7 separate regions of the Homo sapiens genome follow, and all the other regions are linked to region 1. Evidence: promoter capture Hi-C in 16 types of primary human blood cells and fetal thymus (Javierre and others, 2016). All regions are on one chromosome and are shown on one strand. Each heading gives the region's core, a stretch centred on a gene start or on the middle of the fragment in contact. The rest is flanking DNA. Distances are from core to core; before and after follow the strand shown.

What was found. The method cuts DNA at HindIII sites, captures the fragments that hold promoters and counts their contacts. A CHiCAGO score of 5 or more calls a contact.
Region 2: a fragment that was not itself captured here is called in contact with the fragment with the promoter of NKD1 in region 1 in 9 of 17 cell types (non-activated CD4 T cells, activated CD4 T cells, naive CD4 T cells and 6 more); the score reaches 15.5 in non-activated CD4 T cells.
Region 3: a contact is called between a fragment that was not itself captured here and the fragment with the promoter of NKD1 in region 1, in 7 of 17 cell types (non-activated CD4 T cells, activated CD4 T cells, total CD8 T cells and 4 more). The highest score is 9.2, in non-activated CD4 T cells.
Region 4: a fragment that was not itself captured here is called in contact with the fragment with the promoter of NKD1 in region 1 in 4 of 17 cell types (non-activated CD4 T cells, naive CD4 T cells, naive CD8 T cells and 1 more); the score reaches 6.9 in non-activated CD4 T cells.
Region 5: a contact is called between a fragment that was not itself captured here and the fragment with the promoter of NKD1 in region 1, in 8 of 17 cell types (non-activated CD4 T cells, naive CD8 T cells, total CD4 T cells and 5 more). The highest score is 14.3, in non-activated CD4 T cells.
Region 6: a contact is called between a fragment that was not itself captured here and the fragment with the promoter of NKD1 in region 1, in 10 of 17 cell types (non-activated CD4 T cells, total B cells, naive CD8 T cells and 7 more). The highest score is 14.6, in non-activated CD4 T cells.
Region 7: a contact is called between a fragment that was not itself captured here and the fragment with the promoter of NKD1 in region 1, in 4 of 17 cell types (non-activated CD4 T cells, total CD4 T cells, naive CD4 T cells and 1 more). The highest score is 9.2, in non-activated CD4 T cells.

The regions. Positions count from the first base shown.
Region 1 is chr16:50,546,825-50,550,104 of GRCh38, forward strand. It overlaps NKD1 (NKD inhibitor of Wnt signaling pathway 1), which reads left to right and starts at 1,572. Exons shown (of 10, transcript NM_033119.5): 1 at 1,572-1,754; 2 at 1,893-1,925; 3 at 2,598-2,731. The coding sequence starts at 1,730. RefSeq lists silencers at 1,215-1,664, 1,705-1,894. The HindIII fragment of the contact is 5,196 bases long and covers 1,165-3,280 here.
Region 2 is chr16:50,796,842-50,800,121 of GRCh38, forward strand. It overlaps CYLD (CYLD lysine 63 deubiquitinase), which reads left to right. Exons shown (of 19, transcript NM_001378743.1): 19 at 1-3,280. All of the region lies in intron 2 of CYLD-AS2 (CYLD antisense RNA 2), which reads right to left. Among named protein-coding and RNA genes, the nearest start is that of CYLD-AS2, 4.9 kb to the right of the region's middle. The HindIII fragment of the contact is 3,258 bases long and covers 1-3,180 here.
Region 3 is chr16:50,776,772-50,780,051 of GRCh38, forward strand. CYLD (CYLD lysine 63 deubiquitinase) reads left to right here. Exons shown (of 19, transcript NM_001378743.1): 8 at 1,054-1,170; 9 at 2,894-3,273. Among named protein-coding and RNA genes, the nearest start is that of CYLD-AS2, 25 kb to the right of the region's middle. RefSeq lists a silencer at 1,675-1,834. The HindIII fragment of the contact is 3,496 bases long and covers 1-3,280 here.
Region 4 is chr16:50,317,001-50,320,280 of GRCh38, forward strand. It overlaps ADCY7 (adenylate cyclase 7), which reads left to right. Exons shown (of 26, transcript NM_001114.5): 26 at 1-1,135. BRD7 (bromodomain containing 7) reads right to left here. Exons shown (of 17, transcript NM_013263.5): 15 at 3,248-3,280; 16 at 2,887-3,030; 17 at 1-2,266. The coding sequence ends at 2,211. Among named protein-coding and RNA genes, the nearest start is that of MIR6771, 26 kb to the left of the region's middle. RefSeq lists an enhancer at 2,094-3,280. The HindIII fragment of the contact is 7,497 bases long and covers 1-3,280 here.
Region 5 is chr16:50,758,438-50,761,717 of GRCh38, forward strand. All of the region lies in intron 5 of CYLD (CYLD lysine 63 deubiquitinase), which reads left to right. Among named protein-coding and RNA genes, the nearest start is that of CYLD-AS1, 17 kb to the left of the region's middle. The HindIII fragment of the contact is 8,236 bases long and covers 1-3,280 here.
Region 6 is chr16:50,737,431-50,740,710 of GRCh38, forward strand. CYLD-AS1 (CYLD antisense RNA 1) reads right to left here. Exons shown (of 7, transcript NR_184279.1): 3 at 3,250-3,280. Among named protein-coding and RNA genes, the nearest start is that of CYLD, 3.0 kb to the right of the region's middle. The HindIII fragment of the contact is 5,372 bases long and covers 1-3,280 here.
Region 7 is chr16:50,717,258-50,720,537 of GRCh38, forward strand. It overlaps NOD2 (nucleotide binding oligomerization domain containing 2), which reads left to right. Exons shown (of 12, transcript NM_001370466.1): 7 at 2,668-2,751. Among named protein-coding and RNA genes, the nearest start is that of CYLD, 23 kb to the right of the region's middle. The HindIII fragment of the contact is 3,105 bases long and covers 1-3,056 here.

The sequences.
Region 1 (3,280 bases), core at 322-2,821:
AAGACTTAGCGCAATACAAAGAATGTAAAATATCTCATTATATCTTGAAATTATACTATTTTGGATATATGGTGTTCCCTTGGTGTCTTTGGGGACTGGTTCCAGGATCCTAGAGGATACCCAAATCCCCAGATGTCAAGTCCGCTATATAAAATGTCCTGTAGTATTTGCATATAACCTACACACATCCTTCTGAATACTTTAAATCATCTCTAGATTCCTTGTAATTCCTAATACAATGTAAATGTTATGTAAATAGTTGTTATACTATATTAAAAAGTTTTTTATTCTTTATTTTTGCTGTATTATTCTTTTTGCATATTTTCAGTCCACAGATGGTTGATGCCACAGATGTGGAACCTGTGAATAAGGAGGGCTGACTGTATTGAGTTAAGCGAAATATATTATTAATATTTCATCTATTTCTTTTTACTTCTAAAAGATGTGGCGACAAGAAAATTTAAAATTACAAATGTGGCCCACATTATATTTCTATTGGGCAGTGCTGCTCTAGAGAGTCGGCAAAAAGGGCAGAATGGAGCCTCCATTATACAGATCACAAAACTGAGCACAGGTAATTCACTCCAAAGGTCGGGGCTGGTCTCACTCTGAGCTGCGGGTTTTCTTTTCCCACGCCAGAGCTGCCTGGTGCCAGGACGAGCGTAACACGGACCCACAGTGTCCCCAGAAGGGGGCAGGCGTTCTGAGAGCCACAAAGGTGGGGTGGAATCCCTTGATGTCGACCGCCACCATCCCCCTCCCCCCGCGCGACCTCCCCGCAGAGACCTCCCCAGACAAAACAAACAAACCCTTGGGTCTGGCGAACTGCAGCGGGGAGCGGAAACCAAGGAAGATCAAAGACTCAGCGGTTACCCCCTTCCGGGCCGCGCAGTTTGGCAGCGCGCCCCGACCCGGGCGGGCACCCACGGGCCCCCGGACGAGGAGATCCCAGAGACTGGCTGATAACGGGGCGCTTTGGACATTTGTCGCTGCCTGGAGAGGGCTGGGCTCACACTGGCCCGGGGTGCGCTGGGGGCTCCTCCTGGACTCCCCAAATAAGAAACTAGAGGAGTGCGGTGGTGGGGGGCGGGTCACGGGGCGGGTAATGAACACTTTCTGCAGAAGGTAGGTCGTGGGAAGACTGGGAAAAGGCAGCGCTGCCGAAGCTTGCACCTGAGCAGCTAAGGTCTCCGCTCCCGACCTCAGTTTCCCCACCTGTAAATTGGAGCCGCCGAGTCCCGCCCTGCCCGTTTAGAGAGAACGTGGAGCGGAGGGAAGTGACAGTACAGTTAGCGATGGCCGGGCTGTTCTGTCCCAATACGCCTCCTGGACAAGCCGCCCCGCCGGGTCGCCAGCCCTGGAGCTCGGCCCCCGGCCCCAGACCGCGGCAGGGAGCGCGGACTGTGTCCCGCCCCTCCCGTCAGCGCCCCGCCCTCGTCCCCGCCCTGCCCCGCCTCCGGCCCCGCCCCCGCCGCAACCAGCCTTGCCTTTGATGCGCCGCACCGGCCAATGGGCGCGCGGGGAGGCGCGGGCCGCGGCGGCGGGCTGGGGGCTCGGCGCTCCCGGGCGTCAGTCGGGCCGCGGCGACGGCGGCAGGAGCGCGTCCCGGCGCCGCCTCGGGCTCCGCTCGGCTCGGGGGCTGCTTCGGGAGGAGGAGAGCCAAGGGAGGCGCCAGGCCCGCGGGCCGGGCGCATGGCTTAGGGACGCTCCCGGCCGCCGCAGCCCCAGCATGGGGAAACTTCACTCCAAGCCGGGTCAGTGCCCCCGCCCGCGCGCTCGCCCCGGGCCCCGCCGCCGTCGCCGCCGCGGTCGCTAACTCTCTCCCTTCCTTTCTTTCCTTCTCCCGCCGCCGCGGCTGCCGCCGCCGCCGCCGCCTCGCGATGTGCCTGCAGCCGCCGTGTGCAAGCGCAGGGAGAGCCCGGAAGGTAGGGGCGCGCGGGGCGCAGACCTCGGGGATGGACGCGGGGGACACCGCGGCCGCGGCAGAACGGCCCAGCCCGCCAGGTCTTATGACCAGGGCCACCCCGAAGCCCCAGTTCCGGCCACCGGCCCCCCAAGCCCGCTCCCTGAGCAGCCTTCGCGCCCCCTCCTCTGTCCCTCCTACCCGCTCCCCGCGGTCCTGCGCTCCCACCGCTGACCCTCAACCCCTCCCCCTCCCGCGTCCCTGCCCTCGGCTCTCACGGCACCCTCTCTTCAGACCCCCAAGCGCCTCCCCGCAAGACCCTGCCCCCTCTTCCTGCCCCCCGGCCCTTCTTCCGATATCCTGGCTCCTGCACCTACTGCGGCCCCTCTCCTGACCCCCAGCCCTCTCCTCCGCAGTCCTGGCTGCCAGTGCTCCCTGGTCTGATCCTAAACCCGTCCTCCTGGGGTACTGCTCACCCCTCTTGCCCCCTTCTGGCTCCTCGCTCCTAGGGCTTCGCTGAACCCCCCTTTACTTACCCGCGTCCCTCTCTTGGCTCCTGCCCCAGCCCGCGAACCCCCTCCTGGCCCCCGTGCCGTGGTCCTTCGCCTCCCACCGCGCCTCCTTCTTCCCTCCGCGGGGGTAACTTTTGGCACCTGGAGCCAGACTCAGGGGCTTCATGTCGTCCCCGTCCCAGGTGACAGCTTCGCCGTGAGCGCTGCCTGGGCTCGGAAGGGCATCGAGGAGTGGATCGGGAGACAGCGCTGCCCGGGCGGTGTCTCGGGACCCCGACAGCTGCGGTTGGCGGGCACCATAGGCCGAAGCACCCGGGTATGATTCCCCACCCCTGCCCCACCTCCTGGCCTCCTTTCAGCCTCAGAGATGGGTCCCCAAACCCATGCACCCCAACTTTGAGCACTTTCCTGCACAGCTTCTGGGTCTGAAAATCTCTTCTCAGCTGCCCCCTGCCCCACCAACGCGACCCTCTGCCCGCATGCCTTGGAGAACCTCGAAGTGCCCAGCTGGAGGCAGAGGGCTGCCTGGGGGAAAGGTCCTAGGTGGGGAGGTGGTGAAGGTCCAGTTGATGGGGAATCGTGTCTGTACCGGCGGGATTTGGGGGCCTGCTCTGACTTCTACCTTGTTTCTGCCACCAGCATTCAAAGGTGGAGGTGGAGTAGGGGCTAGAGAGAAGGGGGTATTAGGGGTGTCTGGGTGGAAGGCAGAGCTGTGCTGGCCCCAGGATCTGAATATGTTCTGATTGTCTGTGGCATTCATCAGTACCACCTGTACAGGAACCCCAGTAGAGCAGGCGGCCCTCTGGGTAGCAGATCTAGGGGGACTGAGACCTGGAAGACCCCTTACTTGGCATATGAGATAGAG
Region 2 (3,280 bases), core at 302-2,801, 250 kb after region 1:
TAGTCCATTGAGAATGTAAATAAATGTGTCTTCTTTATGGACCAAGGATATGAAATCATTTTTCTTTTGTAGCTAACGGTTGCCTTGAGGAAGAAATAATTTGGTTTTATTAAGAGTCTACTCTCAATCCAGTTATTAGAGATGTACTGAGTTTGATTTGTTAATCCTTTCTATATACTGCTGATCTTGCATGTCTACAATCTGCTCAGTTTTTCTGTGTTTCTGCAATAGTGGTCAGAAAAATACTTAAATTCCCTTAATGGTGTTGTTTTCTATTTGTTCTGGTTTTGAGATAAATGAGTGATTCTGTCCCCAAATGTCCATTTTTGAAGTGATTTTCCTGGAGGATTAGGGTATTTAGCAGTTGAAGCTCTTCATTCATAGTAGTTACTGTCAGCTAACAGGTTTTTTAAGGCTTTTAACTATTAATATTTTATGGAATGGGGCAAAGTAAATTGATGAAAGAATTGGAGTGATAATAGTCCTTTACAAACATACAGTCCATAAGAAAATGAATTTGGCATATAGAATTATTACAATTTCCTGGGAGAGATGGATATTTAAACCTCTATTATTTTAGACAAGACTGTCTAGAACTTAAGTTTGATCTGTCAGCCAGTACTCCCATTAAATTCAGTGTAGTTTCACTTGATAGAATCAGATATGTTATCGAAATGTTAGCAGCAGCTTCATCCTCCTTCTGATTAAAGTAAGTAGAAATGGGATGTTTTGTTTAATAACAGCCATAGTGTGTGTTTAGACCACAGCGGATGTTGTAGACCAGGACCATAGATGATACATGTCAGTGCTGTGGAATGTGCATTCTCTGAGTGTTGTTTTGTGGTATCATTGTCTTTCCTGAATGACTTTCTAACTGTGCAGAAAGGCAGAAAAGTCATCATATGTATATGTCATATGACTTTATAAAATATTTAATGTGACAAAAAGTGGAAAGAATCTTTACAAACCCTGCAATTACTTTTTTAAAGGCACTTTTACTCTTTGGTTTTATCATTCCATTTTGCTAATATTTACTAGCTTTATAAATTACAGTAAGGTACAAAAACTCATCTTGTAATATTTTCATTTTTGAAGTGAAAAAGTACATATATTTTGCACAAGGTTTTATACTGCTAAGTGCTTGGTTGGGGTGGTGAGATGATGATTAGATCAGGGGTGAGGCTGAGAGACTCTGGGTTTAGGGCTAGCCCTGCCTCCATCTCCCTTGGGTAAAATGAAGGGTGTGGGGTAAAAGATGCATAAGGCCTTTTCTAGCTCTGACAGCCTAGAAGTCCAATCACCCTGTAATAAATATGTGTTGAATGAAGAAATGGGTGAATGAGCTTGTCAATGTGATTTTAAAAAATTGACTACCTGGAGGAATGATTAGGAATCTAAATGAAGCCAGCCCTCGGTATCTGCAGGTTTCTCATCCATGGATTCAACCAACTGCAAATGGAAAATACGATTTTTTTTAAAAAAAGGATGGTTACATCCGTATTGAACATGTACAGACTTTTTTCTTGTCATTATTCTCTGAACAATACAAGAACTCTTTATGTAGCATTTACATTTATTAGGTATTATAAGTAATCTAGAGATTATTTAATTAAAATATACAGGAGGATGTGTGTCAGTTATATGCAAATTCTGTACCATTTTGTATCAGGGAATTGAGCATCTTCAGATGTTGGTATCTGCAGGGATCCTGGAACCAAACCCCTGCAGATACTAAGGGCTGACGATCTAGGTAAGACTGGATTTAACAGTTGGAAAAAAAAAAAAAAAAGGAGAGAGAAGACAGTTCCTTTCCTGTAGAAATTAAAACAAAATACAAATTGAGGAAGCTCTGCTACCCAGGCTGTCATGGTAGAGAACTTGAAGAAGACCTGTTTGGATGGACACCTGGTTTCAAAAGTCAGGTGTGGAGACTGTTAAATGGGAGGGCCTCATCCATAAATGATTTCTGGCAACGTCTTCTTCAGGTGGAGCTTGACGTCTTTTTAATGTTACTTGGGGAGGGAGTGCTCATTAAGGGATGCCAGGGCCAGCTCTGGTGGTTCCTGGGGAGGCTGCGTCCTTCCCTGCTTCTGCATGTCATGAGGCAGCAGGAAGGTTTCCCCTGCACCTGTCTGTCCTGGCTCCCTCTGGGTAGCCCCCTACTGTTCTGTGCTTCAGCACAGCCTGGTTTGTCAAGAGGCACATAGTTGGGGCTGGGCTGCATGGCACAGGGGCTTATGTGCCTGCTGGTTATTTAATTTTCAGCCTTAAGTTTTCTTTAATATTTTCCTGTTGGCTATTTAAAGGTTTTGGTTATCTTTTATTCCTTATCTACAATCAAGATGACAATGTAATTGAATTATCTTATTTATAACACGGTTCGTGATTCATGATTCATGATTACAAGTAGAAAATATGTCATGTTCCTCACCTCCAAATAAATATGTGTGTGTCTGTGTGTGTGTATATATGTATGTGGCGGAGAGGGAGAGAGTGGGGAAGGAGAGCAGTGTTATCATACATAGAGAGGCTAAATGTGTCCCATCCCTCACTGTCAGCTTTATAAAGGAGTTTGACTCCATCCACAGAAGAATGTTTTATAAGACTAGGAAAACACGTTGAAAACTAGGATAAACAGCAACAAAAATCAACTAAATATGTTGTTACTGTTGCTAAGGATTTTCTCCTTAGAATAATTTAGGATTTTTAAAAATTTCTGTTTGCCAAATGCTGTAGATAAATGGCCAGATTCTTCCTATCCCTAGGATTCCTTTATTATTTTTTTTCACAGATTTTGAGAACAAGGGGGAGAGATAGTATGGAAGATTAAGATTCCATTAATCTTATAGAACTGTGTTGTCACCCAAATTCCTGCTTGTTTGAACATGGCATCTTCATAGATTCAGGATTCACTACCCTCTATAGCTGGATCTTGAAAATTATCTGGCCAGATAATTTTGCATCTGCTTGGATGATTGTAGACTGAGATGTGAGTGGAGGATAAAGTATTAGACTTTTGCTGAGTAACTGCCAACCAAGAAGTATTTATCGGACACTTACTAGGTGCCTAGGATTGTATCAGAGGGAATATGAAATGTGTCCCTGCCCTACCTAGTTTTAACGACAGAATATCTATTAAAGGCTACTTAGCTGAAGGGTAAGGGTGACAGGTCTAGGGGAAGCTTTGGGAGGTGGTGTGCTGTGACAGAAAAAGTGGCAGAGTAGGGACGAGAGACCTGCATTCTAGCCCTGTTTCTGTCACTTGCTCTGTACACTTAGA
Region 3 (3,280 bases), core at 440-2,939, 230 kb after region 1:
TCATAGATTTATAGAATAGTAGTTATACAAGCCAAAGAGCTCATTAAAAAGGCTCTGAGAATTTTTGTTAACTCAGATGCGAGTTAGGAAAAGAATATTTTTTCCTCAATTATTACAATTTTGGCTCATTTAAAAGGAAATTGTACTTTAAGAATTATTTTATGTGACATTGGGGCCTGGGAGACTTAGGATTAATTGCAGGATATATAGGTAACAGTCTTTTTTATGTTAACCTATAGATCTATATAGGATAGCTCAAACTTGCTACTCTCACTTAAATAGAAACAGACTAAAGATTTTCTTAAGCTATGGCATGTTAATTGTATTGTAGTAGATCTTAAAGTTATAAAATGTACAGCTACCTGCTTTAATTTGAAAAGGGAAATCAGCTTTTTTGTGGGTTCTGGAGAGCCCACTGCCCTCCACTGTGTGTGGTATGTCCTTGAATTAATACTGAGGCAGGGTAATGTCATGAAATGGCTGTGGCATAGCTACACTCGCCCTCTCACGTATAATAAATCCAATCTGTAAGAAATAATAGTGCTTGATTTTTTCAAAGACACAAGGAATTTGATGACCAAAAATTCCAAAATGTTTAAAACTTAACTATTTTTAAATGTAATTTGTGTATTGATTTATATATAGAATTTGAGGATTACCTTCTTTTAAAATAATAGGTTAAATTTGTGAACCAATGGGTCTATGAAATGAAGCTGGAGAATGGTGATTTTGACATTTAGAAATAAGCTGTGGTACATGGAACAATTTCTTAAAGCAGTTCATTTTTTTTAAAAATGAGTGGGCTTTTCTTTTAACTTACTCCTGTTTCCCTCCTATCTTGACTTTTGGGCTGAAAAATATTTTTAATATTGTCAAAATGGTTACCAAATTTTTAAAAGCTGAAGACAGTTAAAAAACATATTGTGTTTATATACATTTATTGGTTATGTAAACAGTTATTAACATCATATTCATAATAATTTCTCTTACTAAAAAAAAACTTTGATGCTATATTGACTTTATTTTTAAATGAAACTTTTCTTGTTCCTATAGGATCTACCTCAGACCCTGGAAATAGAAACAGATCTGAATTATTTTATACCTTAAATGGGTCTTCTGTTGACTCACAACCACAATCCAAATCAAAAAATACATGGTACATTGATGAAGGTAATCAGTAATTTTAGTGTTCTTTATAATGATCCTTTCTTTCTAACTCATCAGAGAAAAATGGTTTTTTATATCAATATTTGTAGTTTTTGGAAACAGAATAAGTAGACCGCTCTTTGTAATATTGCTGAACTAAAATATTGTACACAGTTTGAACCGTACTGCTGTTAAGATTATTAAAATGTTTAAGAAATGTATTAGTAATTTGTTCTTTTCCTTTAACTGCTGATCTATTTAGGGTGGAAGATTTCTGTCTGGTTCCTTCCTGACCTCTTTAAAGCACTCCCTTTTAAAAAATTTTATCTTCCCTTGGTCCTGGGACATCATTTTCACCTAGTTTATTCTCTTCTTTGTTCATTTGTTCAACAAATATTTATTGAGTGCTTATGATTGCCAGGCATTCTTTTAGGCATCAAGATGAAAATGGTGAGAAAAAATAGACATGGTTCATGCCCTTTGTGAGTTTGCAGTTGTTAAGTTGTTGAGATAGAAATTAGTCAAACAACCACAGACACAGTAGAGTTGCCTTGGTGGTGTGTGCAGTGAAGGTGCATGATGCTGTGAGAATACACCAAAGATGATTTTTCTCAGGGTCTTAGGGGTGTTTCTTTGGGGCAGTGACACATGCTTAGGTTTACCAGAGGAGTGACAGATGACAAAGTGAAAGGGGCTAGAACTTCCTCGGGAGAAGAAATAGCATAGGGAAAGTCCTCCTGGAAGAATGGAAGCTAGTGTTTGCCAGGGACTAGAACACAGACAGAGGCATGACATTCATGAGATGAGAATGGAAAGGCAAACAGGCCTGACTCTGTGGTCTCCCAGCCTTTAGAGTTTTGCCTGCCACATTTGTTTTTAAGGCACCTGGAGCTGATTTTCATGTAAAGTATGAGTAGGATTCCTGTTTAATTTTTTTTTAAAAATATGGATAACCAATTATCTCAACAGCATTTAGTAAGAAGTTCATTCTTTTGTCATTGATCTGCAATACCTGCCTGTCAGCTGTATTAGTCATTTTAAGAAAATAGCTTTTGGCTGTGGCTCTCTTTATCATGTGTTTGGTTTCTCTTAAATTACATTCTGTGTTTGTGTTTATTCTGGCTTTGAACTTCTTATTGTATGTTTGTTTTCTCTCTTCTGTTGTTTCTGTTCTTTAGTTTATTCTTCTCTACTTTTTTGAGGGTTATTCTGTTCTTTTAACTTCCCAAGTTGTATGCTGAGTTCATATTTAGCTTTTGTTTTTTTCTGAAATAAGCAATGAAGTCTATAAAATTCCCTTATAAGTATTAATTTAGCCATGTTTCACAAGGATTCTTTCTTTCTTTGTTACTTTTTCTCTCTTTTTTCTTTATTGTTAAAACGTATTATTTCTTTTTTGATCCATTAGATATATAGAAGCGTTTCTTAAGGTTTTCGGTATCTTTTTGTACTGCCTTCTCAATTAATTGTATTTTGGACAAAGACTATCACGTATACGATACCCGCTGATAATAGATTTTTTTGGTTTGAACAGTTGGGTGCCATTGACTGAGGTGCATAAATATGGAGGTGGAGAGAGGAGCGAGAACACTGTTGGAGATAATAACTTTGTGATGCCTATGAGAGTACTATTAATAGCAGGGAGGTCAGGTGGGCAGTTGGACTAGATCTGTATATAAATTTTTAGAAATGTAAGACAGAGTCAATATCCTTGAATACATTTCTGTAATTAGGAATAATTTTTTAGTTGCAGAAGACCCTGCAAAATCTCTTACAGAGATATCTACAGACTTTGACCGTTCTTCACCACCACTCCAGCCTCCTCCTGTGAACTCACTGACCACCGAGAACAGATTCCACTCTTTACCATTCAGTCTCACCAAGATGCCCAATACCAATGGAAGTATTGGCCACAGTCCACTTTCTCTGTCAGCCCAGTCTGTAATGGAAGAGCTAAACACTGCACCCGTCCAAGAGAGTCCACCCTTGGCCATGCCTCCTGGGAACTCACATGGTCTAGAAGTGGGCTCATTGGCTGAAGTTAAGGAGAACCCTCCTTTCTATGGGGTAATCCGTTGGATCGGTCAGCCACCAGGACTGAATGAAGTGCTCGCTGGACTGGAACTGGTAATTT
Region 4 (3,280 bases), core at 462-2,961, 230 kb before region 1:
GGGGTCCTGGGATGAGTTGCCCCGGGCTGCAAATTAAGAGTACAGCTAAGTGCGGGGGTGGCGGTGGAGGGAACGAAAATTGAACCTGTCTGCCTGTGCTGTGTCGTGTGGCTTTATCAGCCCGAGGAAGGGCAGGTGTATTCTAATTTGCACAAAGGTGCTGGGTAGACTAGTGGCAGCTCTCATGTGCTGCACATAAGTGGAATCAGTATGAATAGAAGAACTTGCTGTATAAAGGAATTTCATGGCAACAATGCTGGTAAGGGCAATTAGCCTCGCTTAAGTTGCCTTTTTTACACACCAAAACTTTTTACATGAAGGGCTGGTTTCACATGAATACTATACTGAAATCTGTGCTCTCAAGATCTAGCAGTGACCAGGGCTGCCCGGCGGGGGCTCTCCTGGCAAGTCAGGAAGGTTTCTGTTGCTAATATAACATAGAAACACATTAGTGCACTGGGCCTCTCTGAGGTCAGCATATTTGTACTCTTGGAATATTTGTTTTTTTCTTCAGTAACAACAGAAACCCCAGTTGGGAGTTTAACAAATAACTGACTACCACTCACTCATGCATTTTTATTTCCAATTAAAGCAAAGCACTGTGCTGTGCTCAGATAATAATAGTTTGTAAGTAAAAGTTTTTAGTTTTCAGTGTTCAGGTTATAGAATATAACTGACCATAAAAATTACCTGCAGGTATTTTCTTTTTATGAACTTGTTTTTAAATTACCAAGTAATTACTGGTGTCATTTTGTTTTATGACAGACACACGTATCTAACAAACAAACAAACAGTGACCTTCTCCATGGGTCAAGGACTTCCTTACAATTTCTCCTGAGTTAACTTTTGTGAAAATAATACCTAAGGTTTTCTGGCTTATTGAGGAAATTTCCTAACAAACAAACAAACAAACAAACAGAAGAGAAGATCATTAACCACTGTATACTTTGTGTATATAATAGGTCAGTGTAAAGAAATATGATTTGAGGTGGTGCATGCAAGTAACTAGGGTTTATTCTATATAATGAATATTTATAGATCTGTAACATTTGTTTCAAAATGCTGTTTCATTTTTATAAAGTACCAGTGTTTAGCTGCTTTTTATACATTAAATTAGCAATTTGAAAAACTCAAATATCTGAAGGTATTTTATTTTCGTGGTCCTCATGAACTCACTAGAGATTAAAAGTAGACTCAAACAACTTGAAAATTTGACTCTTTTAGCATAAGATTTTAAGTCTTTTGAGGGAATTAATTTTCCTTTACCCTATTTGTTCTTCCTAAATACTAATTAATTTTCAAAGTCAGGAAAATAATAGAAATCAAATGGCTTCCTGCCTGGGTGATTTATAGAAGGATTGTATAAGGGCCTTCAAACTTAATTTGTTCACTGAACAAGGCTATCTATCTATCTATCTCCATCCTGATTTTTTTCCCTTGTGTATAACAGGTTCTATACCGATTCAGCAAAATCACCATTTATCTCAGCTTGCTGATAAAAGGGGGCCATGAATCTTGTGGTCTCCTACTTAGAGTTCAACTCCTTGGGTACTTGACCTTTGTATTTCAGATAAACAGTAAGTAAAGTAGAAATGTCACCTTTTGGTAATCTGGTAATTCCCTGATCTATTCAAGGATGACTTAGTTTATCTTATTTGGCTTATTACTTTGCTATAGTACTAAGTAACTCCTCTTTCTTTAAAAAACGGAAAAAACCAAAAAAGAACACTAGCCATGTGACAGTGCTATAAAACTCCCAGTGTGCTTTTGTCAGGGGTGGGTGGGAGGTGCCTAATTACCCATACAAGGGCATCATTCCCACTGGGTATGCAGGGGCAGAACCACAGTAGTAAATTCTAAAATTATTTCAAGTATGTTCGTATAACGGAAAATCTCACTGGATGGGGCCGTTTTAAGAACGCTTCTTAGTGATGATCCTGTCTGTGGGACATAAGGAAGAAGCATTGGAAGGCACTATTTTGAAAGAATGCTGCACAGGTATGGCAACAGCCCCAAGCACATTCCTTCCTCACGAGTCCCAGGTCCAGCTTTATTACCTAATACAAGTCCAACCTCTGGAACATCCAAATTCGCTGTTCCAAAGTTTAATTAAAAACACAATTTACAAATATTTAATATCTTCTGAAAAGCATTTCTAAGTTAAGAATGAAAAAGTATGTACATAATATATAATCAAATACCAGGCAGCCTCAACTTCCACCAGGTCCACACTCAGCAACATCCGTCTTTTTAGGTTCTTCAGTGTCTGAAAGAAAAAGACATCACTTAATTCAACATTGTTTTTACCTTTTAATTAAAAAGGGGACATGAAAGTCAAGCTGCCATCCAGAAGCATAACTGCTGAGAGCCCTTCTTCACCACATCCAAGGCTGAAGACTACGCGCATTATCAGGTGATCATTGTGGCTCTTCTGCACACAGGAAATCTTTATTAATTCTTTAGACAAGATAAAAAGAAAACTAAGAGTAGTTTATACATTAAAAACAGATAAATGTTCCTTTTACAGTTGACCCTTCTTATCCATGGGTTCCACATCTGCAGATTCAACCAACTGCCAATTAAAAATATTTGGGGAAAAAACCCAATTAAAAAAATACAACAAACAATGAAAAAAATATAAAAAATACAGTCTATTAACTACATTCTATGAAGTATATAAGTAGAGATGATTTGAAGTATACTGGAGGTTGTGTGTAGGGTATAGGCAAATACCTTTTATGTTAGGGACTTGAGCATCTACAGATTTTGCTATCTTTGTGGGGTAAATACCAAATCCGAGGTCCTGATACCAATCTCGGGCAGACACTGAGGGATGACTATAGTCACCATAGCTTTCTGCTTTCCCAGAGAAAACAGGGCACGTACCTTCTGTCAAATCCACAAAGTTGTTTTCCATGACGGGGGAAGGAATGGAAATCCCCATTGCTTTTCGAACTCCATACGTGCTTACGATATCACCTGGAGTTACTTGCTGTGCAAGTTCTTTAAGATTATTGGTCACTTGTTCAGCTAAAAAGAAAAACAAAGTTCCAGATACTAAAGCATGGTTCCTTTAGATAGAGGCATCCCAAAGAACAGTAAATGTACACATGCAAAGAAAACAAAACAAAAAAACTGTCCCTGGGATTCACATCAGCATTACTCTATAGTGGCATCACCACTGTACTCAAGAAGTTTTTTCTTTGAAGCATCCCGTGACTCTCCTCTTATGGGAGGCAAAACATACCAAGATGCATTTCTCTGTATGAGGGACCCAAGA
Region 5 (3,280 bases), core at 495-2,994, 210 kb after region 1:
ATAGGTGGGTTTTGAACAAAGGACAACTCACCCTAATTTGCATTTTTAAATGATCTCTCTGGCTGCCTGTTAAGAATAAACTAGACAGAGGACAGAAACAGGGAGACCAGGAAGGAGACTGTTGTAGTTATCCACGTGAGAGACGGTGGTGGCTGGGACTGGGGTGGTATGAAGAGGATGGTAAGTGAAGGATTTGGATATAATGTAAAGATCCCATCAAGATTTGCAGATGGGTTGGGTGTGAGGTTTGAGAGAGAGAACAGAATCAAGGATGATTCCAAGGTTTGGACTGAGCAACTGGTAGGCTGGAGAGGCAATTTACCCAGGTGGGAAAGACAACAGGAAGAGCATGCGTCGGGGAGTGGGAGTTGGAAGTCAGGATCTTGGTTTTGATCATGTTAAAATTGAGTTAGCTATTAAACAATTTCATTTGAATGTTTATGTTAATATTATACGAATTCATGTTTAATCCTTAAAAATGGGCAATGTGCTCATCATTTTCATATTTAAGAAACTTTTGGCTGGGTGCAGTGGCTTATTCCTGTAATCTCAGCACTTTAGGAAGCCGAAGTGGGCAGATCACGTGAGGTCAGGAGTTCGAGACCAGCTTGGCCAACATGGCGAACCCCCCCGTCTCTACTAAAAATACAAAAATTAGCCAGGCGTGGTGGCGGTCACCTGTAGTCCCAGCTACTCAGGAGGCTGAGGCCAGGAGAATCGCTTGAACCTGGGAGGTGGAGGTTGCAGTGAGCTGAGATTGTGCCATTGCACTCCAACCTGGGTGACAGAGCGAGACTCCATCTCAAAAAAGAAACTTTTTACTGTAGAATGTATTTGCAAAAGTATATATAACAACATATATTAAGAATAATAATGAACACTCATGAAACTGACCATCTAGGTTAAGAAACAGAACATTAGAAGTACCTTGAAAACCACCTGCAATACCTTGTTTTCATTATAATTGCAATCTCTCCCTAGAGGTGACCATTATTCTGATTTTTTCATTAATTATTTCCTTGCTTTTTATAATTTAATTATATCTCTGTAGCTAAACAATATACTGTTTAGCCTGCTTTTGAACTTAATGTAGTTAAAATCTTACTGATTTTTAAATTACTTGCATCATTTACTTAAAATGTATTTTGAGATTCTTTTCTGTGGATGAGGGCATTAGTAGTTTGTTCACTCTCACTGCTTCATAGTATATTTCGTCATGTGACTATCCCACAGTTTGGTGCCCATTGTAATATTAATGGACGCTTGGGTTTTAGGTTGTTTCCACCTCCTTTTCCACACTTGGTACTGATTAAAATTTTTGCCAGCCTGACAGCTGAGAAATGGTATCTCAAGGTGGTTTAAAAGTTTGTAGTTCCCTGATTACAAGTAGGATTGAACAGCCTTTTATATGTTTATACAACATTTGTGTCTTCTATTAAACACGTATTTTTTGCCTGTTTTTCTGTTGAGTTGCTCATTTATTGATTCATGAGTTCTCTAGTTTTAGAATTTTAATAAAACATCTTTTAATGTTTTGTTATGACATTTTAAACAGAAAAACTGAAAATTTTATATTGAGCATCCTTATGCATATCATCTAGATCCTACAATCAACATCTTACTTGCTTTATATGTATCTGTCCACCTCTCTATTCACGTACTTATCCGTCACGTTTTCTTGTGCATTTCACATTAAGTTGCAGATACCAGTTCACTTCCTCCTAAATACTTCAGTGTGCATCTAATTAACTAGAGATAAGTATTTAGGGTTTTCTTTTTCATTTCAGATAGAAGTCACACATATAATGACATACATATGGATTTATTTGGGTTCTAACTAATATATATATACCCTTGAATTAGAAACCTCTATCAAGTTATTAAAACAATTTTAAGAAGAAATCATTCATGTATCTCAAATCAAAATTAAAAAGTACAATAAAATATCTCATTTCCATTTTTATCCCCTCTGCCTCAGTTGCCTGCTTACTCCATCCTTCGTTTCTCACTAGTCACAGTTTTTATGAATTTCTTATATATCTTTCCAGTGTTTCTTTATACAATATAAATATTCTTATTCCCCCTTCCCTTTTAATTCAAGAAGTGTAGTAGATACACTATTCTGCTGTTTGCTTTATTCTCTTAATTTTATATGTTAGAACTCTTTGTATATTTGCAAACAGAGGTTCTTGTTTTTTATAGTGTATAATTTTCCATTGTACGGAAAAAAATTTCATAATTTATTTAACCAGTTTCCTATCAATGGACATTTGGGTTGTTTCTGACTTTTTGATATTGCACACAATGTTACCGTAACCTGTACATGTCTGTTTCCCACATGTGCTAGCATATCTGGAGGATATATATATTCCCAGAAGTGGAGTTGCTTGATGAAAGGGCGTATGCGTTGGTATTGTTCTGGATATTGTTAATTGCCTTCAGTCGTAGATATAACAATTTATATTCCTGCCAGTAGAATACAAGGGGGAACTTATAGCTTTCCCATGAGAGTGTGTTACTAACTTTTTTCCCAATCTGATAGATAAAAAATATATTTCAGTGTATATAATACATTTGCAAATAGAAATTTGCATTTCTCTGAGTGATGTTGAACATTTTTGCATATGATTAAGGGCAATTTTTCTTTCTGTGAACTGTTTGCATCTGTTGCCTATTTTTAAATTGGGTTAGGTTATTGGCCTTTTTTCTCACTGATTTCTTCATGTGTTAGGGTGGCAAACTCTTCTGTGATGCGAGATGCAAATGTTGCCCACTCTTCCACCCTCATTTGTCATTTGTCTTTTTTTAAAATTGCTTATTTTTCTGGTCACCCTCATTTGTTTTTATTGTGGTAAAATATACCTAACAGGATGTACCATTTTAACAATTTTTAAGTGTATAATTCAGTGTAAGTATGTTTACAGTTGTGCAACCATCACCACTATCTATTTCCAGAAATCTTGTTCATTATCCCAAATAGAAACTCTATACTCATGAAGAGATAGCTGCCGGTTCCTCTTTCCCTCCAGCCTCTGCTCATCTCTGTTCTCTGCTCTCTGTCCTTATGACTTTGCTTACTCTGGGTATCTCATATTAGTGGAATCATACATATGTCCTTTGGAGCTGGTGCATTTCACTTGGTGTGATGTTTTTGACTTTGGTGCTTTTTGCCTTGCAGGATTTATAAAATTTTTATGCTGTTGTATTCTTTTAGTTTTAATAGATTCTGGATTTTGAGTTACTGTAAGGTTATAAAGGAATTTCCCTGTGTTTTCTTCTA
Region 6 (3,280 bases), core at 250-2,749, 190 kb after region 1:
CAGTCTTAGTTCAAATGCCACCTACATGAGGTAGTCCTTCCCTGAACAATCTACCTAAATAGCAGTTTCCAGCCACTGCCTGCCTTCCTTTGTATTGTCTTCTCTGCATGAACTACCTGATGCATGGTCATTTTTCCCCTCCCCTAGAATGTCAGCTTCTTGAGAACAGGAACCACGCTCACTGCAGTGTCCTCAGAGTCTACAAAGGTGCCTAGCACATAGTAGGTGCTCAATACATATTTGTTGAATGAAGGAAGGATCCACTTTCTTTATTAAAGGGGGCAGAAAATAGAAGTTGGGGCAGCTTATAAGAATGAGTCACCCTTTTTCTGACATCATTTGTGTCTCCTTGGTAAAGGAGGAAGATTCCCTGGGACATGGAACAATCCCTAATGCATCAACTGCCCAAAATGGGATCCAGATGTAGCAGAAAGTTCCCTTTAATAAAGAGCTTTCTGTGTGTGTTTTAAAAATCAAACATAGAAATTATTTGTCATTGATACCAGCAAATAGCTCAAATGGGAGAGCATGGATTTATAGTTCGGCTGGATTAGTTTAAAGATGATTAAAGTAATCCCCTTTATCTTATCAAAAAGAGCTTTTAGGTGGTCAGAGTAAAAGTCCTCAGACAGAATGTTCAGTTGCACTTGGAATTTCCCTTCCCTAAGAGATAAGCACATCTCAGAGATGGAAGACCTCAGCCCGTTATCCATGGATCAAAACACTGTGCTGGGCTACTGTGGAGAAAGCGCCTGTGACGTATCCTTGCTTGTGCGGATACCTGGTCCAGTTAGCCACTTGGCCTGGTGTTCATTCTGAATGCCCATATTCACAGGATTAGTGGGAAAATGGCTGGAACCATGGGAGGTTGGATGGACATCTGGGAGTTGCCATTTACTAAGATGGGGAGTGCAGAGGGATTGCAGGGGGTGGTGGTGGTGAATATCAGGAGTTCGCTTTTGGCTGTGTTGAGTGGAGATGCTGAGAAGGCAGTAGGATATAAAAGAGACACCAAATTTGGAGAGACTGCAAGTAGGAGGTACCCCGTGGTAGGCACTGGGAAGCATGGAGCAGGGTCTAGTCAATAATCATGACCGGTGCCACTGAGCAGGTTCCCTTGAGTCCTGACGGTGTGTTACTCTATGTCCCATGCCCCTAGCAGGCTACCTGGAGTTCACCGTCCTCCGTGGGGAAAGCTCCATTCAATTCAATAGCTTTATGTTAGGGTCCCGCTGTGTGCAATGAGAGAACTACATAAGACAGCTTAGAATCAGTGTTAGGTCAGGCACAGTGGCTCATGCCTGTAATCCCAGCACTTTGGGAGGCAAAAGCAGGAGGATCACTTGAAGCCAGGAGTTCAAGACCAGCCTGGGCAACATGGTGAGACCCTCATCTCTACTCAAAAGAGAAAAGTTAGCTGGGCATGGTGGTGCGTACCTGTAGTCTCAGCTGCTCAGGAGACTGAGGTGGGAGGATCACTTGAGCCCAGGAGACGGGGGCTGCAGTGAGCTATGATTGTGCCACTGTACTCCAGCCTAGGCAACAGAGTGAGACCCCATCTCAAACAAAAAACAAAAAACAAAAAAAGAACCAGTGTTATGTTCCCTGCAAAACCCTTCACAACTTCCCATTGCTCTTGGGATGGAGAACAACCCCTGTCCTTGGCTCCCAAGGCTCTTTTGTGCCTTCATTGTCTGCGCTCTGCCTCTTCCAGTTTCTTCAACAGGTCATGCACTTTCCTGTTTCCTATTTCTGGAGTGTTCCCCCTCACTCCTGCCTGCCAGTTATCTTTCCCATCTCATCTCAAAGGTGACTTCCTCAAACAGGCCTTCCCTGAGTGGCCAACCTCCCTTTAGGCATGCTCAGAGAGATTCTTCTTCTGAGGCTTACCACAGCCATAATTAAGTAAGTGATCATCTAATGAGTATTTTAGTTTGCCTTTTTTTTTTTTTTTTTTTTTGCCAGAGGGAGTGTGGCATCTCTCTTGTACACTGCTATGTTTCCTGGAACCTGCTCAGTAACACAACCGCTAGTTCCATGAACCCAGGACCAGGCTGGATGGAAGAGGCTGTGGGGTGGTGGATTGAGAGAGGTCATTAGTGAGGGCTGGAGCCCTCTGTGAAGACATGTCTGTAAAGGACTTTGACTAGGTCCTCCATGAAGGGAGGATTTGGAAGGCAGAGATGATGAGCATTTCAGTTGGGGAATCCATTTTAACAGAGGTGGAAAGAGTCTTGGCTTGGAATCAGGGTCTCGGCCCATCTCCTGAGTGACAGGGGCTTGTAATTTACTGTCTTTGGGCCTTCATCTACTACCTGTAAAATGAGAGGCTGGTTCACCAAGGACTGCAAATAATAGCACCATGACACTATCTCCCCATCTTATCCCCTGGCAGATATCTCTCTTCCCGGTGAGCCTGAATATAAGTTCAGAATTAGCTTTAACGCAATGTTCTAAGCAGCCATTCCCAATTGATAGGAAATGATAATTGAGATAAGCCCCATTTGTCAGGCTTGACTTGGATGAAGATCCCTTAGATGAAGTCAGGCCCCGGCACTGATTCAGTGAACGTATGACAGGACAGAGCCTGGGGACGAAAGCCCTATGGAAGTAGAGACCTCAGCAGCACCAAACACCATCAACAGAAAGGACACAAAAATAGGCCGGGCACATTGGCTCATGCCTGTAATCCCAGCACTTTGGGAGGCTGACGCAGGCAGATCACTTGAGGTCAGGAGTTTGAGACCAGCCTGGTCAATATGGTGAAACCTTGTCTCTACTAAAAATACAAAAATTAGCTGGGTGTGGTGGCAGGCACCTGTAATCCCAGCTACTTGGGAGGCTGAGGCAGGAGAATTGCTTGAACCTGGGAGGCGGAGGTTGCAGTGAGCTGAGATCGCACCATTGCACTCCAGCCTAGGCAACAGAGCAAGACTCTGTCTCAAAACAAAGAAACAAACAAACAAACACCCCAGCAACAACAACAACAAAAACAAAAAGAAGGGACATGAAAATATTCTAGTCCAGAGTGGCAAACTCAGATGCCTTAAGGGACCAGTGGATGTAGATCGTGCAGATAAGAGAAGTGGTCCCAGTGGTAACATGAGAATGTTTGCCTTGCCTAAAAGGACCCCAAATCTCTCTCCTTCACATTCTTTTCTCCTTCCTCCTTATCGTATGGGTTAGGCAAAAACAAATTTCAGCTGAAATTTTCTTCCAGACAGTTGGACTGTGACCTCTGAGTCCTACCAGCTTTGTTGGAGAATCCAGATGTAGATGA
Region 7 (3,280 bases), core at 254-2,753, 170 kb after region 1:
TCTGGGTTTACTGAGTTCCACGATGCATGTTGAGCTCGTCCTGGTGGGGGAGGCATACACAGTTACTTGCCACCCCAGCTGTGGCAGCGAGTTGCTGCAACACTCCCAGGAGGTCCTTTCACCACTCAGAGCATGCAAGGTTTGCAGTCCATCTGGTTCTGCATTTCTGCTACTCCAGTGTCTCCCAGTTTCAACAGGAGTCTCTCTCTCTCCTACCTGATGCCTTTAAATTGCCCCTCTAGCTGGCCGCTGGGTTGGCCTGGCTTCTCTCTCCTTCTCTCTCTCTCAGATATTCTTGCCTCCTGTGATTTGTGAGGCAGTAAAAAAAGACAAAGTAAAGAATTGCTTCCATCTATTCTTTTACCTCTTGGGCTGGGTTTGTGGATGGGAGCCGCCATTTTAAAATGGCGGGCCACATAGCTCAGTCTCGGCAAGGGCTACTGAGATCAGAACCACAGGTGCCAATTTGTACAAAGGACTCAGTCCTGCTACCACTGCCTGATCCCTCAGACTCACAAGCCTGGAATAGGCTGTGGCCAGACCTGGCTGGCCCATCCCTGAGAAGGGTGCTAGTTTCAGAAATGGAGGCTGAGTTTGTGGCCAACACAGTAGTCCTCCGGTATGTGCAGGAGAGATGTTCTAAGACCCCAGTGGATGCCTGAAACCATGGAGAGTATCAAGCCCTACACATACCATGCTTTTCCCAATACCTACACACCTGCAATAAAGTGTAGTTTATAAATTAGGCACAGTAAGAGAGTAATAGCAACTCATAATAAAATAGAACAATTATAACAATCAATGTACTATAATAACACTATGTGAATGTGGACTCTCTCCATCTCCCTCAAAATATCTTCTTGTACTGTACTCACCCTTCTTCTTGGGAAGATGTGTGGTGGTAAAATGCCTGTGTGATGGGAGGAAGTGAGGTGGATGACGCATGCAGCACTGTGCTCTAGCGCTGGGCTGCTGTTGACCTGACCACACTTCAGGAGGAGAATCATCTGCTCCCAGAGATCCCTAATCTTTGAGCAACAATGAGGTCGGCAGCTGGATGTCAGGAGCAGACGATCTTGATGATTACCAAATGGGAGCGTATAGAGCGTGGATGCGCTGGACGGGGGGCTGATTCACGTCCTGGGTGGGATGGAGCTGGATGGCACGTGATCAGAATAGCATGCAATTTAAAATGTATGAATTGTTTATCTCTAGAATTTTCCATTTAATATTTTTGGACTGCAGTTGATTTCAGATAACTGAAACCATAGAAGGCGAAGCTGCGGATAAGCAGGGGGCAGGGATTACCGTATATCATTGTAATAGAGAGCACAGGCTCTGGAGCCAGACTGCCCGAGGTTTGAACCCTCATTAGCTGCGTGACCTCAGGTCAGCCCAATGTCTGTGTGCCTCCGTTTCCCCTTCTGTAGAATGGAGGTAATAACCCTGGCTACCTCACAGGCTGTAGTGATGAGCAAGCAAGTTAATCCACATGAAGGGCTGCACCGTCTGGCAGGGGCTTTATATAGTAAGCGAGTGGCTGAAAGATGATGGGTAAATCACACAAGCACTCAGCTTGTTTCTCCTTATGTGAGTCCGGTCCTCCAAGCAGGGATTCAATGTGCCACCCATTTATTGGGGAAAAGTCCTAAAAGGGGAAGTGGGGAAGGGAGCTGGGGGAGGCTGGGAGGTGTGTCCCTGAGTGAAGGAGAGAGGGAAGGAAGGAAGGTTGAGACTGGGCACCTTGGACTTCAGTGCAGTCCTAAGACATCTTGGCAAGGCTGATGAGGAGTTCTTGAACCAAATTCACCAGGCAGGGGAGCCTGATGTCTCAGGCAGGGGCTGGCAAGTGCAGATGCGAGGATGTTAGATTTTGGAGCACAGCAGCTGGGGCCCTTGGCTACCTCCAAGGAGCTGAGGCTGGAGACCTGAAAGGCGAGTTCTCCTAGCTGCCACACCCCTTCTCCAAGGATACAATAATATCTGCCTTATAGGATTGTTGTGAGCTGAGTGGCTTGACGTTCCTTGAAAGAATGAAAGCGTATAGTTATCCCAGGAAGCCTAGGGTTGCAGGTGAGAGCTCTGGGGCTTCTCCGAAGCTCTCCGAGGTGTCTGGATTCAGTTGCAGCAGGAGCCTTCCTTGCTGGGATCTTCCCCCACCCCTAGCCTTGGCCCTCCCTCTCTCCTTCCTTTCTGGAAGGCTCAGTGGGCCCCACCCCTCCCTCCAGCCACCTGGACCTGCCCAGCGCTCTTGTGCAACAGGTAAAGCCTACCTGTAGCAACAACAGATCTGGGAAGGCTGCAGAGGGCACGATGGGGTCTGGATCGAGGGCGGCTGAGACCAGAGGGAAAGGTGTGACCCTGAGTCACCCTCGCTGTCCCGGGGAAACCACCTCCCAGGACAGCTGCCTACTGTGGCTCCTGCCTGGAATTGTCACACTGCTGTGCAAACAGCGTCCCGCTGCCCCTTTCCCTTTGCTGGGGGAAAATGAAGTTGTGGGAGCCGCTGAGTAAACTAGACCTAGCAGCGAGGGCACCTGATGTGGCTGCTGCCTCCCGGGCAGGTCTTCAATGCTTTCTTCCTGTGTTTCCCTGGCCAGGGCACAGACGGCCCTCCTTTTCTGCCTGCCGCTGTGTTCTCTCAGCCTCCTCTGTCTTCCCTTCCAGGCTGGGGAATAACTACATCACTGCCGCGGGAGCCCAAGTGCTGGCCGAGGGGCTCCGAGGCAACACCTCCTTGCAGTTCCTGGGGTAGGTTGGATTCCAGGAAGAGGGACCTGCATGGAGGGGCTTGGGACTTTTGAGGATTTAGGGGCAGGTGAAACTCTTCAGCCAGGAGGCCCCAGAGGCAGCCCAGCTCCAGTGGGGAGGACAAGCCAGGGAGAGAGTGGGCGGCCCTTGACTGCCACCTTCATACTTGGTCTATGCCTGACAAACAGGAAGTTTGGGATGTTGGGGCTAGGGGAGGACAGTGCCCACGAGCTGGTGACAGGAAGCCCTCTGATCCTCAGGGGGCGCTAGGGCTGTACTTTAGCTGCATATTAAAACCACCTGGAAGCTTCTAAACACTATTGCCAGGCCTCCCACCCCAGACTGATGAAATGCAAATATCTAGGTGCAAGGCCCAGGTATCAGGAGTTTTAAAAAGCTTCCCAGGGGATGTACAGCCAGGGGTGAGGACCCCTGACCTAAGAAAGAGAAGGAAATGGGGAAGGATAGGAAGGCACCCAGGATAAGAGGGGCTGTGCTAGGTCCCTCGGAGCTCTTGCTCCCTGTAGGA